Linked DNA regions of Homo sapiens: region 1 is linked to region 2. Evidence: promoter capture Hi-C in human tissues and cell types (Jung and others, 2019). All regions are on one chromosome and are shown on one strand. The core of a region is centred on a gene start or on the middle of the fragment in contact, and the rest is flanking DNA. Distances in the headings are between cores, read along the strand shown. Region 1 overlaps PDZRN4 (PDZ domain containing ring finger 4). Region 2 holds the start of ZCRB1 (zinc finger CCHC-type and RNA binding motif containing 1).

Region 1 (5,433 bases), core at 1,005-3,504, 1.1 Mb before region 2:
CATATTAGTCATGTATGGGATGGAATAATCACATGCATAAAAACCCTAAAGGACAACGTTTTCTTTTCTCAGTTGCTCTTCAGTAGTTATATAAATGTGTCCTTTAAAAGTTGGTTGGATGAGAGCTGTATTTTCTAGCTCATTGAATCTCCTGAAATTGGAGATGGTTACTTAACCCTACGACAGATGGAGACAGCCTGTCTCAGCCTTCAAAGATGAAATGTCAATGAGCACGAGTGAATAAATATGGGACTAATTGAAGTGGACCGGCTGAGAGACTGAGGAAGGATGCATTCCTGGCACTCCTCAGACCCCAGCTTTTGAAGCCAGCCAACAGTCTGTGTAAATGACCCCACTAACCTACACCGGAAGGGGTTAGAAGGTTACCTAAACACACAGTCCTTTAGAAACCTATTAGAAACACCTTTCAGAGCATTGAAATATGCTGAATTCCTAAATATGCCTCGTCTGTCTTATCAATTATAAAGTAAGAATTAAAGAATACTGGTTTGGAGATGAGCACTGTAATTTTATGTTGTTCAGATATAAACTTTTAAAGTAGTACAATCAAATATGAACTCTTCATCTTGATAGCAATAGGTATGTCTCAAGCCCTAGGACCTTCTCACCTGATGTATTATTGTGCCATTGTGTTTCTTTTGCAACAATATATACCTCCTAGGAAAATAAGAAAAAGGCCAAAAAATGAAACAAAACTAAAAACAATATGGGTTTAAAGTTTAGCTTTTCAATATTATAGTTTTTCTTAGAAAATATTAAACTAACAAAGAAGATAAGCAATTATATTAACCAGGGCCACACATTCGAAAAACTTAGAAGGGCTAGGCAGACTTCACCCATGAAGGATCAGGGAGTGAGTTCCTATGCACACAGTGTGCTTTTGAATGGTGAGGATTTTGGGGAACTAGACACATAAGTTAATTTAAAAGCATGTGGGCCCAGAAATGCTAGACCTTATGTTTTTTAGAAAAAAATAGAAACCTAAATTTAGATGTAAAACATCTCAATTTTTAAATGCTGGTTTGAAAATTTTAAAAACCCTCTATGAAGAACCAAACCACATACACGCGGGCCTCAGGGGCCATTTGGCATACAGGCAATCAGTTTACAACCTTTGATGAAATGCATAGATATGCACAAACTTAAAGCTTTGTGTATCACAGGCACACCAAAAATATTTGTTTAACCAGCTTGAACATTACCAGGCATCAGCATTACGTAATTTCATTTCCAAATGTATAACACTCATTTTTTTTCATTGTTGAACTTTCAAAGTTAAATTAAAGCTAAAGAGTTATATTTAACTGTGTAAGTTAGTAACTTAGCCATTTCAGGAATCAAATTAATCCCAGAGAAAATAAACTCTACATTTATTTGAAATATTTTTTACAGTCTGATAACCCATGTTTACTGAGCACCTAGATTAAAAGACATTGAAGAGTGATTGAATAGTTTCTAACCAAAGAAGTTTGCAATCTAGTGAATAAGAAAGACTACCTTTAATATAACACAGATAAAAGTAAATGTACAAATGTCATGAGGGACAGAAGAAAATTATCTTATTTGTGCCTTTGTAGCACAAAGGCAGGAAAGATTGATTCTTTGCAGGGATCAAAGATCAAAGAAATCACCTTGAAGGAAGTGGCATTTCAGATGTGTATGACAGAGTGAGACATAGCAGAATTGGGGGCAGGGTGCTTCACAGTACTTGGACTGAGCATTGGGAAATCTGGCATGGCTGGAGCACAGAGGAAACGAAGGTGAGGCGGGAGGCTCATTTAGGGCAAGATTACAGAGAGCCTTGGGTGTCATGTTGGTGCCTGTTTTAGGATTTTATAGAAGGAGAAGAAGATAAGGCTGGTGCATTGCAAAACAAATTAGAGATGAAGGAAAAGAGACTAAGAGAGAAGAAAGGTCAGTTAGGAGGCCTTTTCAATAGTATGGGCAATAGATAATGAGGACTTGAATGGGTGTGGGGGAGTGGGACTCTGAAGAGGTGATAGATTTGGATGTCATAGCATATGACAGTCTGGGGATTGTTTTTTTGTTTCTTTTTGCCAATATGGCAAGTGAAACAATTAGACCTAGATCTTAATTTTTTCTTCCCACTTTATTAGCTCACCATTCTTTCTGAATTTCAGCACAATCAATAGAATAAGGAAGGTGTGATAAGACCATAGATACTTGGATTTTCTTTCATAGCCCCATAACAATTTATATTTTAAGCTTCTGCATCTATTTTATTTTATGTGTGGGGTTTATTGAAGAGGGGGCTCCAGAGAAGATAGAAAATGTCTTTTTCATAATATTATACTCTAAAAATGGAAGACTGATAACATTTCAAATGTTTACACAGGAAACATTTAACATAAGTAACAGATTGCAAAAAGGCAAGAAGGATTAGAATTCACAAAACTAACTTGCATCACTGGAAAAATAAAACATGAAAATAAAAAACATAATTAGGTGATATTAACTTGTAATCATTATACCTTCTTGATACTGGTGCCCCCTCATAGGCACTTCTTGGGAAAAATGGGAATCTAGAGTTTTCAAATGGACAGAGCATACAGTCCAGAAATACTTGATGAAATAAAGTAATTATTTCATAATATTTTAAAAAGAAATGTATTTCCTAGTTTTTTCTCATAAAATGGAAGTATAAAACATCTGACAAAATTAAGGTCACTAAATATGGGCACGTTTGTAGCAAACACCTTTATGGATCATATTGGCCATGTTATTGCTATAGATGTTTAAATAAATGTCTCAATTACAAGCTTTCCTGATTTTATTGCTACTGTATTCCCAGTATGTGTTGCTTTGTAATGTATGGTAAAATAATCTAATTTAATACTTTAACATTTTTGTCATGAAATATTTGCCCATACCTATGTCCTGAATGGTATTGCCTAGATTTTCTTCTAGGATTTTTATAATTTTGGGTTTTACAGTTCAGTCGTTAATCCATCTTGAGTTAATTTTTGTATAAGTTGTAAGGAAGGGGTCCAGTTTCAATTTTCTGCATATGGCTAGCCAGCTCTCCCAGCACCATTAATTAAATGGGGAGTCCTTTCTCCATTGCTTGTTTTCGTCAGCTTTGTCAAAATTCACATAGTTGTAGGTGCGTGGTCTTATTTCTGAGATCTCTATTCTGTTCCATTTGTCTATGTGTCTGTTTTTGTAGCAGTACCGTGCTATTTTGGTTACTAAAGCCTTGTAGTACAGTTTGAAGTTGGGTAGCGTGATGCCTCCAGCTTTGTTCTTTTTGCTTAGGATTGTCTTGGCTACTCAGGCTCTTTTTTCTTTCCATATGAATTTTAAAATAGTTTTTTTTCTAATTCTGTGAAGAATGTCAATGGTAGTTTAACGGGAATAACACTGACTCTATAGATTACTTTGAGCAGTACAGCCATTTTCACGATATTGATTCTTTCTAACCATGAGCATGGAATGTTTTTGCATCTGCTTGTGTCTTCTTTGATTTCCTTGAGCAGTGGTTTGTAGTTCTCTTTGAAGAGGGCCTTCACTTTCCTTGTCAGCTGTATTCCTAGGTATTTTACTCTCTTTGTGGCAATTGTAAATGATAGTTCATTCATGATTTGGCTCTCTCTGCTTGCCTGCTGTTGATGTATAGGAATGCTAGTAATGTTTTGCACATCGATTTTGTATCCTGAGACTTTGCAGAAGTTGCTTATCAGGTTAAATTTGACAAATGGGATTTAATTAAACTACAGAGCTTCTGCACAGCAAAAGAATCTATCATTAGAGTGAACAGAAAACCTACAGAATGGGAGAAAATTTTTGCAACCTGTCCATCTGACAAAGGTCTAATATCCAGAGTCTACAAGGAACTTAAACAAATTTAGAAGAAAGAAAACAAACAACCCCATTAAAAAGTGGGCAAAGAACATGGACAGACACCTCTCAAAAGAAGACATACACGCAGCCAAAAAGCACAAGAAAAAAAGCTCAACATCACTGATCATTAGAGAAATTCCAATCAAAACCACAATGAGATACCATCTCATACCAGTCAGAATGGCTATTATTAAAAAATAAAAAATAAAATAAAAAACCTCAGAATGGCTATTATTAAAAAATAAAAAATAAAAAACTCCGAAGTGCTATTATTAAAAAATAAAATAAAAAAACAACAGATGCTGGCGAGGTTGTATAGAAAAGGGAATGCTTTTACACTGTTGGCGAGAATGCAAATTAGTTCAAACACTGTGAAAGACAGTGTGGTGATTCCTCAAAGACCTAGAGGCAGAAATACCATTTGACCCAGCAATCCTATTACTGAGTAGTATACCCAAAGGACTAGAGGTCATTCTATTGTAAAGACACCTACATGCATATATTCTTTGCAGCACTATTCACAATAGCAAAGACATAGAATCAACCTGAATACCCATCAATGATAGACTGGATAAAGATAATGTGGTAAATATACACCATGGAATAGTATGCAGCCATAAAAAGGAACAAGATCATGTCCTTTGCAGGGGCATGGATGGAGTTGGAAGTCATTATCCTCAGCAAACTAACGCAGGGACAGAAAACCAAACACCACATGTTCTCACTTACAAGTGGGAGCTGAATGATGAGAACACATGGACACATGCGGGCTGAACCATACACACTGGGGCCTGTTGGGTGGAGGAATGTTGTGGGGAGGGACAGCATCAGGAAGAATAGCTAGTAAATGCTTGCCTTAATACCTAGGTGATGGGTTGAACTGTGCAGCAAACCACCATGGCACATGTTTACCCATGTCACAAACATGCACATGTATCCCTGAACTTAAAATAAAAGTTGAAGGAAAAAATACTATAGGGGATAAATCTGCCACCTGTTCTGTTTTCCCAATTTGGAAATAGTGTAATAACATAGGGAAATTACATGCTTTACTGTGTTCAATTCATTTACCAAATATTAGCTGAGTACTACCAGGTAAAAGGTGCCATATGCTATTGGGGGTAAGAAAGGTGACAAAAGACACATCAAATAAGTCATTTTCAAGAAATCGGATTTTATTTTACGAAGCTTTAGAAAGTCAAATTGTCCTTTCTTAAACAGCTTATATTTTCTGCTGATTCACTGGGAAGCATATATACCGGAGATGCTACAGGAGTAAACAGAGTTGTGTAATGTAGGATTTTGAAGAATATAAAAGCACATATTTAAAAAGGCAAATGTTAAAAATGAAAACCTTGAAATGGATTGGGCTAAATTTTTTTCAGAGAAAAGATATTTGATAGTATTTTAAACCCTGATATATCCATTATGAGAATCAGTTTTCCCTTTTTAGAGAGTTCTAATATGTGCATTTTTTTAAAGGCACATATTGCCCACTTGGGCAGCATGGAGTAAATCACTGAAGCAGGCAGCAGTTCATGTTGCTGAAAA
Region 2 (5,428 bases), core at 1,034-3,533:
GATGAGGTGGGAGGATCACCTGAGGGGGCGGGGAGGCTGCAGTGAGCCATGATAGTGCCACTGCACTACAGCCTCGTGCCTCAGTGACAGAATTAGACTGTCTCAAAAAAAGAAAAAAAAAAAAAGGAAAAAAGAATTTGCCAGGGAGAACTATTTGCTTAAGGTTATCTGTATCTCAAATAGCAGTCACTCGATAAGATTTACTTACCCGGTACAAGTCATTGTTTGTCAGGGAAAAAGGCAAGTTGGATACATACACTGTGCTCTTACTTGGAGCCAATCCACCACTCATTTCTAAAAGTGAAAACAAACTTATCAGCAATCAGTCTAAACCAGGATTCTTTTTTTGTTGTTTGAGACGGAGTTTCCCTCTTGTTGCCCAGGCTGGGGTGCAATGGCGTGATCTCGGCTCACTGCAACCTCTGCTTCCCAGGTTCAAGCAATTATCCTGCCTCAGCCTCCCGAGTAGCTGGGATTATAGGCATCCACTACCATGCCTGGCTAATTTTGTATTTTTAGTAGAGACAGTGTTTCACCATGTTGGTCAGGCTGGTCTTGAACTCCTGACCTCAAATGATCCACCTGCCTCAGCCTCCCAAAGTGCTGGGATTACAGGCATGAATCACCACACCTGGCCTAAACCAAGTATTATTAATTCCAAATAAAACCAATACATCAGACCAGTCTGGGTATTATTTGGAAAAAAACAAAAAACAAAAACCAATAAAGTATTAACAATCACCGATTTAATTATGCCAGATGTGTACACCTTCCTTACATTTTAGGAAGTTAGGAACAATGACTCCAGCAGGCTGAATTAAGGAATTCCTTTTTCCCAGTCACCACTTAAAAAAAATTCTTTTTTGGTTCTTCTTCTTTCAAGTATTCTTTATACCAACACTTTCAGTGCCAGATTGTATGGGTAGGGAGACGGGTTTTGAACAGATGAAGGAAAAACCCTGAGGCTACTCCTAACTTCCACTCAGACCATGAGCAAAAAAAATGCTCTATTGAATATGTACTGTATATGTACATTACCTGCACCTTGCTCACCCAGGTCAGAAAGAGCATGGGGACTCAGACAGAACCTTAGCCACTGATTTTTGCTAATACACAGTCATGCTATGCTTAATGAAGGAGGTATGTTCTGAGTGTTACGTGATTTCACAGTGCAGACATCACAGGGTGTACTGAGACAAACCTAGATGGTCTAGCCTATTGCTCCTAGGCTACAACCTGTACAGCATGTTAATGTAGTGAATAATGTAGACAGTTGAAACACAATGGTAAATATTTACATAGCTAAACACAGAAAACGTACACTAAAAATATGGTACAATGTATTACACTCTTAGGAGACCACTGTGGTATATGTGGTTTGTTGTTAATCAAAAAGTTGTTATGCTGTGCATGCCTGTACTATGGCTGGGTACCTTTTTTGCTTGTCTTAATATTTTTTTTCTCTGGAGTGGTGTGTTAAGAGGAAAATTTTCTTTTCCCCTTTTAGTATGATGTTAAGGAGTAAATTTAAGCTTTATGTATCGACAATATAAACTTCTTTCGAAACGCTAATTTTGCTTATTGCCAAATTATGAAATGATACATTATATAAATAGGCTTGGTGCCTCGAAGAGACAGACCTGTAGGTATGTGTGTATATGTATATAAAGTTTACAAATGTAATCAGTAATTTTCACATCTTATCTTACAAAGTCAGCAAATTACCGTGAAAATATCAGGCTCAACCAAATTCAAATTTCTGATTTAAAAAGAGCGTGCGGTGTGTATTTGAGATGGGAAGATCAACCATCACAAATGGAAAAATACTGACTCTATGGCATGCCAATTCGTGAAGGAATGAGAAAACTGCCTCATGTTTGGTGTTATGGGGGAATTATTTAGAAAACTTCAGGAACTCAACATAGATACGTCGCTTTTTAAGTTTCTCATTTGAAACTATGCGTTACACGTTCTGCTGAGAGCCGCGAAGGCAGGCAGAGGTTAAGGTCCTGGAATAAAAAGGGTGGCGGGAGAGAGGGGCAGAGCGTTTTGGCAGCCGAGTCTGGGGAGGGGGCCCCGCAGGAGAGAAGGCCGCAGCTGAGGAGGCGTTTACCTTCAGGTGGGTTGGGCCTGGGAGACCAGAAGAGTGCGAGCCCTCGGCTCAGCTGGGGCTCAACCCCGACTCTTCGTAGCCGCTCGCAGCGGCCTTGGCATCACGAGTCCTGGGAGGGGTCAGGCGCGGAGAGCAGATAATAGCAGCCACGGTGCTTCTTCCCGACTGTTTGAGATCCGGGCCCCGAAGGCGGGCCCAGAGGCGAGCGCTTCGCTAACGTCATTGCGCGCGCCGGAAGTACCTACCTGGGATAACGGCGGCGAGCGGACGGCTGCATTTACGGGGTCTCCCGGAGGGCCAGAGTCGGTGAGCGCTTTTTACCTTTCCCAGAGATGGATGCAGAGCGTGTGCGGGCTGCTAAACGGGGGGGAGTGGGCGGGAGTTTTCTGTGTCGGGTCCTGGATTCTCCTGCCTTTGAATTGTGTGACAATTCTGCCCATGCGGTTGAGGGTGGAGAGACGCAGTGGAGTTTGGAATAAAGGGAAGTATTGAGTCTAAGATAGGGGTTCGCCTCTCTGTAGCGCCTTAATATGCAAGAAGACGACTGAGCTAGGTAACTTCAGTGACCCGAGAGGAGTCAGGAAGTCGGTAATTTTACTGAAGGTGTTCACGGTACCCAGCTATTAGGCACTTTGGGAACTACAAAATAAACAGACCTTTTATGTTTTGTTTTGTTTTGTTTTCTGGTGAAGATCTCAGTCTAGTTGGGGAGACGAGGTCAACTTGGGGAGAGTTGGATTCACAGAATGACTCATCTTTAGTATGGGTATGGACAAGTGTTGATCTTCTTGGCACCTTTTCTCTTCCTGTAAATCTATAATGGCTACGCACTGCTTTTTCTCTAAGAGGCCATAACATGCCCACCATTCCTACAGAAAAATCAGAACGTAATGCAAGGTAATTTATACTTCTGCCTACCAGCACATACAGACCAGGCCTCTAACCACTCCCTGGGAGCCTGCGTTCCAGCAGCCTGGAACCCACAGCCTCTCCTGGAGCCTGCACAATCAATCCAGAGTGAAGCCGATGTCTTCTATAGAGACGGAAGTACAATCCATCCAGGGCGCAGCTGAATTTTGAGAGGCCTGAATGCCTCCGTGGCCGACAGGAGACCGCTGGCACTAATTCTCTAGGCATACTTGTGGCCAGCCAAACTTACCATGCTTTACATCTCTGTTATCCTTGGTTACCGCCCAAGATGTAAGCTTCTGTGGTCTTCTGTGCTATAGTCTCATTTCCATGCTGCTTTGTGCTTTCTTTCGACTTAGGCTATCACTGCTTCTTCGTTTCTTCCCCATTTAACCCCTCAACACCCCATCTGTGCTTTCTGAAACCTCTATTTCCTGCTTAAACTATTTTACATATTCAACTTCTTTAGTGAAATTCTCCTTCATCTCCTAACCTTAACTATTGATAACACGTAGATTTTCCTGCCAGCCATTTCAGTTGAGCCCTTTCTCTGACCCTGCATTTAAAGGTTGGGCATGGCTGTAGCCATGTTGAACGGATTTCAATTCCTCAGAATACTTTCTTCCCTCAGTATCTTCACAAAGGCTCTTTTCTCTCTCTGGGACATTTGAGCTCCCTGTTTCCTCCTATCTTTTTCTGGATAACTTCTATTAAAGATCTGAGTTTAGCTGTCACTTTACTTGAGGGGTATACCCTAACTTCCATAGAGTTAGGTATTTTTGCTATGTACTCTTAGCTGTCCTGCACTTCCCTCACGGCATTTATCACATGTATCTTAATTGCTTCTTTGCCATCCCTACTAAGCGAGACTGTCGGTGAGGGACTGTGTTTGTCTCGTTTATCTTTGTAACTCCAGTAGCTAATACAGTTCTTGGCACATAAGACAGTCAGTTATTTCTTGAATGATTGCAGGTGCTGAAGGTATGCTGCAGAGATCAGGCAGTTAACGTTAATGAATACTTCACCCTTAGAAGGGGTCACCTGCCACTCAGCTACAGCTGATTGTGGCTATGTGAGAATATGATCCCAGTTTTGCCAGAACATCTAATTTTTTCAAAAAAAGTTGGAAATACCATTTTTTAAAAAGCATCCTCTCCCAGTTTTTAAATGTTGTCAGTGGAATAGAATTTTATTAAAAAAAAAAAAGTGGGTCAAACACAAGTCTCATATGGCCTATCAGTCACTAGTTTGGAATCTGTTTTAAGTCTTGTAGGGTTTATATAATGGGCTTTGTGGAGAATAATAGGTTTTGAGTTGGGCCTTGATGGACCGTTGGATGTTGAATGAGAGAATGGAAAAAGATATCCCGTTTGGAAAATAAACAGCTCCGTGGTAGTATGTGTTAGTCTGTTTGTGGCACAGTAAGGAAACAGGCATAATTATATGCTTTTGGAGAGAATAGAAGGTTAGATATAATAGAAGGAGGCATATGGAAGATAGAAGTTTGGATTTATTATGGTTAATAAAAAACCTCTTGGATTCTTGATCCTGGAAACTTCACATTATGAATATGCGTTAACAGTTGATTATCCTTTTTTAGGGTAAAATGGAGGGTAAAACACTGGAAGGAGGCTGACCGGTTAAGGCCTTAACTTCCATCCATATATGAAATAAAATTCAGATTTATAAATATTATATGTAGGCAGACATCTGGCATTTTTGTTTACTTGTGTAATTTCAGTTAATTGATCAATTATAATGGACAATCAGGGATCTCCTACTAAGTTTAGTGCAGTACATTCGGGCTTATAAAAGAAGTATCCTTAAAGCGTTGGAAAGTCAAGTGACTTGTGAAACTAGTAGAGAATGCAGTACTTTTTATTTTTTTATTTTTTGAGACGGTGTCTTGCTCTGTTGCCCAGGCTGGAGTGCAGTGGCACGATCATGGCTCACTGCAACCTCCATCTCCCAGGTTCAAGGGATTCTCCTGCCTCAACTTCCTGAGTAGCTGGAATTACAGGCATGTCCCACCATGCCTGGTTAATTTTTGTATATTTTTTAAGTGGAGACGGGGTATTACTATGTTGGCCAGACTGATCTTGAACTCTCAACCTCAAATGATCCGCCAGGCTCAGCCTCCCAAAATGGTGGGATTACGGGCATGAGCCACCGCACCCAGCCCCAGCATCAGTTAATTTTTTTTTTTCAATGACCTTAACTAATTATGTTCTAAAATTTATGTTTAGTTGTCTGGAATTTCAATTTTTTTTTTTTTTTGTGTGTGTGTGTGACGGAGTCTCACTCTGTCACCCAGGCTGGAGTGCAGTGGCGCGATCTTGGCTCACTGCAAGCTCCCCCTCCCGGGTTCATGCCATTCTCCTGCCTCAGCCTTCCGAGTAGCTGGGA

What was found. The method cuts DNA at HindIII sites, captures the fragments that hold promoters and counts their contacts. A contact is called where the count stands out against the background at its distance.
Region 1: a fragment that was not itself captured here is called in contact with the fragment with the promoter of ZCRB1 in region 2 in 1 of the 25 tissues and cell types used here (dorsolateral prefrontal cortex).

What each region holds. Positions count from the first base shown.
Region 1 is chr12:41,234,635-41,240,067 of GRCh38, forward strand. The region is part of intron 3 of PDZRN4 (PDZ domain containing ring finger 4); the gene reads left to right. Among named protein-coding and RNA genes, the nearest start is that of PDZRN4, 49 kb to the left of the region's middle. The HindIII fragment of the contact is 3,362 bases long and covers 574-3,935 here.
Region 2 is chr12:42,323,811-42,329,238 of GRCh38, forward strand. It overlaps ZCRB1 (zinc finger CCHC-type and RNA binding motif containing 1), which reads right to left and starts at 2,284. Exons shown (of 8, transcript NM_033114.4): 1 at 2,114-2,284; 2 at 209-294. The coding sequence starts at 292. PPHLN1 (periphilin 1) reads left to right here and starts at 2,357. Exons shown (of 10, transcript NM_201439.2): 1 at 2,357-2,419. MIR7851 (microRNA 7851) reads right to left here and starts at 49; the gene lies at 1-49. RefSeq lists an enhancer at 1,980-2,029. The HindIII fragment of the contact is 5,260 bases long and covers 333-5,428 here.